Regions from separate parts of the Homo sapiens genome. Here region 2 is linked to region 1. Evidence: promoter capture Hi-C in 16 types of primary human blood cells and fetal thymus (Javierre and others, 2016). All regions are on one chromosome and are shown on one strand. The core of a region is centred on a gene start or on the middle of the fragment in contact, and the rest is flanking DNA. Distances in the headings are between cores, read along the strand shown. Region 1 holds the start of NPAS2-AS1 (NPAS2 antisense RNA 1). Region 2 has its middle 34 kb from the start of NPAS2.

Region 1 (4,593 bases), core at 1,437-3,936:
TAAAGAATATAGTTATTGGCTGGGCGTGGTGGCTCACGCCTGTAATCCCAGCACTTTGGGAGGTTGAGGTGGGCGGATCACCTGAGGTCAGGAATTCAAGACCAGCCTGGCCAACACAGCGAAACCCCGTCTCCACAAAAAATACAAAATTAGCTGGGTGTAGTGGTGCATTCCTGGTAGTGGTGCATTCCTGTAATCCCAGCTACTTGGGAGGCTGAGGCAGAAGAATCGCTGGAACCCAGGAGGTGGAGGTTGCAGTGAGCCAAGATGGTGCCATTGCACTCCAGCCTGGGCAAAAAGAGTGAAACTCCGTCTCAGAAAAAAAAAAAAAAAAAAAAAAAAAATATATATATATATATATATATAGTTATTATTAAATATAGTACACATGACAGACTAAGAAGTTCAATAAATGAAAAATCAGAATTCCAAAAGAGACTGCATCACACCATCGTGTCTTGTAAACACAGACATTCTTCATAATGCAAGACCCAGAAGTTAAAGACATTTTCATTTTATGCCCCTTTGGATTAAAAGGTTACTAATTTCTTACCAAATAGGCCTTGGAAATTTAAAGAGAAAAACAGTATTCAGGTTTTTTTTTCTTTTGGCCTAATGAGGGTGAATATAGGCAGTTTTAATGAGTAGATTCCAGAAGGGTAGCTTTTTTACACCAATCTTCAAGCCTGACTCTGGCAAGCAGCACGCGTTAGCATGTGTCTTACTCCAGGAATGCATGAGAGACCCCCACTAAGAGGGCATATGTTCCGAAATAGTTTTCATCAGTGGTGACAGATGTGTGCCAAGACAGAGAGGGGCACCTGCTGCTGAACTGCCGTCTGGGACGCAGCTCTAGCCTGTGGCCATGGTCTGGGCAGAGCTAAGTCTCCTATGAGGGAACTGAAGTCAGAGCTCAGGCCTGGGCAGGGTTTGTCACTCCCCGTGTTCAGAACTCCCTGCTGAAGCACATCCCTGCTGTCCCCCTGCCAAACCATCTGGCAACCTCCTACCCACCTTTCCGGGGCCAACTCAAGCGTCACCTCCTCCAGGAAGCCACGTCAGACTTCCCTGGGTAGAATATTTCCTTCACGGTTCTATAAAAACGCATGCCCTGCCACGGCGGCGTCTCTGTTTACATGCCTGTCTCTCCCTTTAGTTCTGAGAACTAAAAGCAAGGGCTGACTTACATCTTTACATCCCTAACACCTCGCTCACTGACTGACCCAAATAGTAACTCACCGAATGTTGTTGAAACAAGGATGGAATTACTCAGCAAAGCCGTAATCCTTTTCTTTTCTTTCTTTCTTTCTTTCTTTCTTTTTTTTTAAACAAATGTGATATTTATAGTGCTGGACTCACGGCTTTTAGATCCTTTCAGTCTTTCTATGACATGCAGCCCAATTCAGACCTTTTCTAAAATACCATGGCCAATTTGGAGTCGTAAAGAACAAGAGGAATGTGGAAAAGTGGCAAAGAGGTGAACAGAGACTGTTAAAAGAATTAAAAAAACAGACTCTGGACTTCTGCAGCAACTTGGATGGAGCTGGAGGTCATTATTCTAAATGAAGCAACTCAGAAATGGAAAACCAAATATCGTATGTTTTCACTTCTAAGTGGGAGCTAAACTATGAGGTCACAAAGGCATAAGAATGAAATGATGGACTTTGGGACTGGTGGGGCAAGGGTGGGGGGATGTGAGGCATAAAGGACTACATATTGGGTACAGTGTACACTGCTCGGGTGACAGGTACACAAATCTCAGAAATCACCCCTAAAGAACTTATCCATACAATCAAACACCACCTGTTCCCTCAAAACTACTGAAATTTAAAAAAAGAAAACCCCAGACACTGGAAAAAAGAACTTGGAGACGAGAGGGTGGGTGTGGGGGGAACCTCATGGCTCGACACAGGCCACACACACATTGGGAGGGACATTCCCCCACGTCAGGGCCTTGGTTGGGACCTAAGTGTACAAGACCATCAGCGCAGCACACTGCGGACTTCTGGCTTGAGAGGGGCTGCCCTTTCCTGGGTCCCAGACTCACCTGTGCCATGGGAGCGGGCGTGCTCTGCAGAACGGTCTGAGGCAGGAGCTGCTGTGTGAGGTCGCAGGACGATGGGGAAGGCAGAGGGGCCTGTGGGAGAGAAAGGGGCTTTGTTACCACTGCTTCTGCCATTCCAGGGGACAGGGATGTGGTCTCTTGGTCCGGTGGGTTCTCTGCGTTCCGCACTGGGGTGAACAGCTCCAAGTCAAGAGTTCTAGAAAGTATAGGTGTCTGTTCCCTGGCTGCACTGCTTCCTACGCAGGGCACAAGGGCAGAGCCCCTGCACAACTGGTGCAGGCTTCCACCCCACCACAGTGTGCTCTGCCAGGCTGCTGCTACCTGCCCAAGCCTGGTAGCTCAGCTCTACTTCCCTTCCCTTGCCTGCTGTCCTGGACTCCGCCCTGGGTGGATTTGGTTGCTCTCCTCCCAAATGGATTAATTCTTAGCGGTGTCATCAAGCAGGACGACGTGCGTGGACTGCTACCATGAGCTGCTGTGCGTCCGTATCTTTTCTGCTCAGCGCTAATGCAGATGGACAGACACGCCATGCATGTTTGTCCATGAACTCATCCAGGCAGTGAGGACTGGGGCAGTTTCACCAGCCTCTGCCCAGAACCTTTTAAGAGACTCCTGGGAAGTGAGCTGAGTCACATCTGCGCTCCCTGATCACTCGGGTGGGTGGGGGAGACAATGTATAGTAACAAGAAATGAAACACTCTGCTTCACGGGCTAGTGGTTTTCTAGTGGTTTTTTTTTTTTTTAAAGAACAGTGAAAGGACTCGTCTGAAGTTATTCCGACACGGCCCCTAGTTGCTAGGGCCTATATAAAAAAGCAGCTCAAATGGAAAGTGTCACCCAGGACAGCATTGGGAGGAAATGACACCAGGAGACCTTGTTTCAGTGAGAAATCCCAGGCACAGGGCTGATCCAGAAGCTGGTCTGGGTTCTGTTTCCCTGCGCAGCTGGGAGGAGACAGAAGCACTCTGGGCCTCCGTTGTTGGCAAAGTGAGTCACACTGGACAGGAGAGTCTGGAAGAATGGCAGGCACAGCTTGCAAGCGCATCTGGAGGTGGCTGGAGAGAAAGTAAGTGGTCTTTGCCACATTCTACTTGAAAATAAAACGCATCGCCCAAGCTTCTCAAGCAGGGTGTGCACAGCCTTTATGGAGACAGCAAGCAGGAAGGTGGCACGTTCACTCCATCTCCAAAGTGACAGTGAAGTGTGGGTGGGAGGGGTTTGGCAACTATCTGGAGGTGGCCCCTAAAATTCCTGGGTACTTCTCCCGTCTAGAAGTGGAGGTCTATATCCCTCTTCATGGGTGAGCTCAGGGCTGCTTTGACCAAGAGGTATGGCAGTGGTGATACTATATGACTTCCGTGGCTAGGTCACAGAGGTCTGCATGGTTCCTGCCTGCGTCTCCAGGTGTCTCCTCTTGGAACCTGGAGTCCACCACCATGCCAGGAGAAGCCTAAGGCTTGAGAGGCCCATGCAAGTCAATGACGGATGGCCTCAGCTGAGCCCAGCCCTCAGCCACCCAGCCCGGCTGCTGGACATTCATGTGCAGACACCATCTGGTGGGTGCATTCCATAGCCTAGGCCCACGAGATCCCCGACACCAAGGAGCAGAGAAGTGCCATCCCCATGATGCCCTTTCTGAATTCCTGACCCAGACTCCATGAACTTCATACATGTGGTTGCTTTAGGCCACTAAGTTAGGTGTAGTTTGCTACCTGGCAATAGATGACCAGAGTGGTGCATGCCAGTGACTTTACATATAGCCAGGGCCATACATCCCGATGTTCTGGAAGGATCTGGCACATGTTGGGGACGCTACCTGATATGTGCAGAGGTACATTTTTGTTGACACTGAGCTGCTCAAATATTTTCACCAGCATGAAAGGGGATTCAAAACAGAAGAATCCTAATTGTGTAGCCCCAGGGGCTCTGGGGGTATGAGGGTATGACCCCGGGTTTGCAGTTTTGCCTTTAATCCTTAAAATTCACTTGGATTTTGTATTCTAATGGATATGCATCCATGTTAATTTTGTCATGCAAATGTTTAAAATTAGTTGCCAATTAAATTACTTAACTTCCCACCCCCATCTGCCACCCTACACTCTCAATCCCTAAGTAAAACGGATTCTCTGGGGAGACGCAGCACATCGCCTGGCTCTGCAGCCCCCACCACATTGTAGCGTACACCCGTGGAGGAGTTTGGGGTCACACACTTACCGGCATGGTGGCTGCCTGGCTGAGCCCGGGGACAGGTAACTCTTGGGGCAGGGTGGCTGATCTTGGCAAAGCCGGGGTGCTGGCCTCTGCCATCAGCTTGGTGGGAGTGGCTGTAAGAAAGCAACGAATGACCTTCTAACTTCCATGTACTTAGCATGTACTCATCCGAAGAGGGGACCCATGACCGTGGTGTGCACAGTACAAGAGCTCGCTTGGGATCTCTGATAAAGGAAGTCCACCATGCAGGGTTGAGCTGAACCACAGAAGCCCAGCCTGGGAGCAGGTAGGAGACACCACAAACACTCCCTAAACTT
Region 2 (4,593 bases), core at 1,497-3,996, 190 kb after region 1:
GATTCAGAAAATATAGAAATAGAAATTCAATAAAGCACAGATGAAAAGTTCATCTCTTTCCCTTCTTCTACAATTTCCTCTTCAAAAAGGCTATTTTGTTTTCTTGATTTCTTTCAGAACTTAAAGAAACACACCTGTATGTATGTATATATGTTCATGTTCATGCACACACACCCACACACATAATTTACAGGGGGTTCAAAATATACAGGCATGAGGACTGGCTTTTTCACATGCTTTGTAAGGAGATTTTTACTCTCAGCACACTCAACACCTCTCCCTCTTTGTCCTGGCTGTATAGTATTTCATTCTATAATGTTAAGGGTTAAATTGTGTCCCCCACAAAAAGATATGTAACTCCAGTACCTCAAAATGTAACCTTATATGTAGATTGTATTTACAGATTAATTAAGTAAAAACGAAGTCATTAAGTGGGCCCTCATCCAAAATGACTGGTGTTCCTATTGTGAACAAAAGTTCTTTGAAAAAGAATTTAGAAGAAAGAGACTTTATTCTAGTAAACAGTTTGCAAACTAGGAAAACACAGCCTTTGTTATGAAACAAAAATTTGTTCCAGAGAGCAAAAGGAAGACAGGTTTTATAGCAAAAGTTCTTGCCCAGGTTCCCAATCAGGTCCATTTATGCAAATGAAGGATTGAGATTCATTTAGTTCTTACTGGTTGACACAACTGAGTTCTTATTGGTCAGTGCAGCTGAGTGCCCATTGCTAGATACAGCTGAGCCCTGATTGGCTAAGGTAGATGAGCACTGATTGGTTGGTTATGGTGAGCTCTGAAAGTCCCAAAGGTTAAAAAGTGTGGGTTTTTGGGAGAACATAGAGTACATGCGTGACCTCTAGGCAGCAAATGGCTGCTTGGCTCTATTTTAAATTTAGGCCCAGTTAGCCACTTAAAGGGTTGGCTTTTTCAGGTTCACATTTGTTCACATGATTAAAAGGGGAACTTTAGACACATAGAGCGGGAAGTTGATCTGAAGAGCACGGGGAGAAGATGGCTGTCTACAGGCCAAGTAGAAAGGCCTCAGAAGAAACCAACTCTGCCAACACCTTGGTCTTGGACTTCCAAACTCCAGTACTGTGAGACAATAAATCTCTGTTTTTAAGCCACCCAGTCTGTGGTACTTCGTTAGGGTAGCCTGAACAGACTAACACATATGGTGCATCATAATTTATTTTACTAATCTCTTTGATAAACACTTTGAATTCAAAAGAATACTTTTCACGCATTAGGAAAATGCATTAGGTAATTGGAAAAAACCCCATGTAGTAAGTTCTTTTTTTGTAGAATAAAAAATTCTTTAGGGGGTGTTAATACTTATCCATCATTCTTCAGGCTGGATTATTTGCATTTGAACATATCAAGCTTTCTTAAAGTAAGTCCACCTATAAACCAGATGCCTGTGCAAGTAGACAAAGTACAATTACAGAGATTTCATATGTAATAGTGAGATCATGAGTGAAAGAGAGTCAGGTGACATTATTAGGAATCTTTTGGTTGCAAGTGACAGACACTGCACTTGAACCAGCCTGAGAGAACAAGGAAACTAATTTTAAGGCTCGGTGTCCTGCAGGATCTAGGAATAGCTGGATGTCAGGGCAAACAGACCAGGGACTCAAACACCCTCAGAACACTCTGTTGCTAAATTTAGTCCTGCCCCTCTCTGGACATTTGATCAATTGTCCTTCTCTTCTAGAGATCAGCTTCCTCCACTTTTGTGGTCTGGCTTTGAAAGGTCTCTGATGGGCTCAGCTTGGGTCAGGTGGTCACGCCAGGACATACCCTGGTGCATCTTGAGAGAAGAGTCACTATACTAATCTGACAGCAACCTTGGGCACAATTTGGATGATGGGAGTGGAGCAGCATGAGGGTGGGGGCTGGGTACTGTCAGAGTAAGGGGGGTGATGTTTGAGTGGCCATCACCTAGGGTCTCCTCATTGTTTTTGACAAAAATTTCCTGGAAGAGGTAGAATTTCAGCAGTGCCACCATTTGGAGAAAACCTAAGGCTTTGTCATACCCAACCCAAGGACTCTGGTCATGCCATCTTCATGGGCCTTAGAGAAGACCCCCTAACTGAGTAGAGTCACCCTTGACAGGTAGAGGCCACCAAATGTGCCTATCCTCTGCAGCTGTGCCATCTTTCCAGGCAGAAGCAAAAAGCAGCAGGCATGACTGCCGAAACAAGACTGGGCTCTGCCTGCAGGAAAATCCGGGCTGTGGTGGTGGCTCAGCGCCTGCCAAGCAAAATACCAGTTAGGAGATGTCGCTGGCATGCAATTTAAAGACTCACTTGACTAGTACTTGAGGTTATTTAGAAAAATACCTTTGGTCACATGCTTCCCAGAATGTTATGTACTTGAAATGAATCATCCCTACCCAGCCCAGAGCGATTTAATTACAATCCCCTCCCGTGTTACTTCTTTTAAAACTTGACCTTCTTTTCTGGTTGCAATTCAAATTCGGCAAAATATCAACTTGGTTTTCTTTTTTGGAAGCCGAGGAGGAATCTTTCTATAGCTGAACAGTTTCAGACAGGAAGAAGGGACCGAGTTCCACGGTGAGAAGCCTTGCAATACAGCAGTGACTGCAGATGACCTTTAATAACTAGGAAAATATCATTCATCTGTGAGGGTTGTTAGATAATTTGTCTCAACATCATACCCGGCTTGTAAGCAAAAACAAACATCTGAGGTAATACAAACAGACCAGGTTCCTAGTAATCTGGTGAGATTATGCCAGCCACACACTCTTGATGTGTGTGTCTCTAGGTGGGGGTCACTGTTCATACACAATGCTGGGGGGCTTTAGGGGTGATGCACTTGATGTGAGTTTTGCTTTTCTAAATCTGAGCATCCTCACTGGCTTGTGTTATTGTATTTGGAGAACCACCCGTGCCAAGGGTGTGTCCTCTTAAGTAAGCATCCATAGCAAGGCACCTCTTGCTTGCCTGAGCGCTGATGCATTGAGTGGGTAGAAATGCCTGCTTGCTCTCAGTCCTAAGGTTGTTTCTTCTGCTGCGACCTGGATCCTGGTGGCCCGACATGGGCTGTGGAGACAGACAAGCCTGCAGCCACGTCTTTCCTCTGCCATTCACCTAAGCTCTCCGAATCTTAGCTTCCTCATTGGTTAAATGGGGATAATAATAATAGTGCCTACATCACAGAGCTGTTGTGAGGATTAAATGAGATAATCTATGTGTCTGCCACAAATCAGGAATTCAATAAATGGCAGTCTGTTCTGTAAAAACCACAATATCAGCTCAAATTGGAATCAAGTAAGTCTCCAATAAAATAAAAAGCAAAGGTTTCCAGTCATAAATCATAAGAAATACCATTTTAGACTGATAGAATGCTTTTCATTTTGCAGTGCGATCACTTCTATTATCTCATTTTATTTTTCTGCAATCCCCATGCGAGAGGCAGGACAAGGATCATGAGCCCCGCCTGTGGATAAAGCAACTGAGGCTCAGACAGCCTTCATTTTTCCATGCCAAGTGCCGAGGGCAGACCCGGCCTGCGATGGTGCCCTCTGAGTGTGTGACTAATGGCGCACAGGCCATTGCAGCAGTATCGGCCATAGAACAGGGTGGCCATCAGGGTGCAGGGTGAAGAAAGCATCCAAAACAGCAAGATATCAGGACTAGATTTTAAGCTCCTGAGGGCAGGCATTGCAACTTGAATTTTTTCACAAACGTCACAGTTTGTAGCCTGGACTCTGCATATAGTAGACAATATATACCTTTTCTGTTCGTAATACCATTTCTGCTCATAAACCATGCCTAAGTTGCTCTGGTCAGCCATTATGACTGACTAGTCACACTTTAAAAGTTATAAATCAACCAAAGGGTTATTCATCTGAAGTACGAAAACGGGCTGTGCAGATGATTTAATAGAACGGCCTTTGACCCTGAAACTGCAGATGATATACAGCCAGGAGAACAGGCTCTGGGGTCAGACTCGGGCGAGCTCATGAACCCCCTGAGCCCCAGTTTTCTCATCTGTAATGCAGTGTCAGTAATACTCACCTTGCAAGGCTTTTTGTGCAATTGAGAGAAAGTGCATATGAAGTGACTGGCACGTGATAGAAGCTTAACAATGTTGATTAGTGTTATTCCTTTTTAATCTGCTTTTTGGTTTCTGGTAGTCAGATTGTTTCCAACTCTGAATCTGAAGCAAACAATGCATGATTCAATAACATGTTGGACAAGGGTTTCTCTCTCATTTTCTTTATGTTCCAAATTAGTTGTTACATCCGGGAGATGTTGACCCTAAAAAACCACATTCGTAGATGTCAGTCAGGTGTTGATCAAAACCTATTGTTCTCGAATCAGCTCTCATAGGGTGAGAGTGGGAAAGTGGGAGAACTCAGCCAGGAATGGGACAAAGTTCAACTTGGCCATCTTTCCAGAGAGCCACTGTGGGTTCCTTGAGATCCAGAACCTTCCATCCTTTCCTGGTGTCCGTCCCAGACCCCTTCTTCCCCAGGCCTCATTCTTGCTCACTCCCTCCTTTCCAAGAGTCATGCTTGGGAGGAGACATATACTCACGTGGGAGGGCACTTTCAGCTGCAGGACTT

What was found. Contacts are between HindIII fragments. The CHiCAGO score rates a contact against its expected background, and 5 or more counts as called.
Region 2: a contact is called between a fragment that was not itself captured here and the fragment with the promoter of NPAS2-AS1 in region 1, in 4 of 17 cell types (endothelial precursors, M1 macrophages, M0 macrophages and 1 more). The highest score is 9.0, in endothelial precursors.

The regions. Positions count from the first base shown.
Region 1 is chr2:100,975,254-100,979,846 of GRCh38, reverse strand. NPAS2-AS1 (NPAS2 antisense RNA 1) reads left to right here and starts at 2,686. Exons shown (of 3, transcript NR_110213.1): 1 at 2,686-3,131; 2 at 4,434-4,562. It overlaps NPAS2 (neuronal PAS domain protein 2), which reads right to left. Exons shown (of 21, transcript NM_002518.4): 14 at 4,280-4,389; 15 at 2,048-2,137. The HindIII fragment of the contact is 3,647 bases long and covers 1-3,183 here.
Region 2 is chr2:100,784,184-100,788,776 of GRCh38, reverse strand. No RefSeq gene overlaps it. Among named protein-coding and RNA genes, the nearest start is that of NPAS2, 34 kb to the left of the region's middle. The HindIII fragment of the contact is 2,723 bases long and covers 1,385-4,107 here.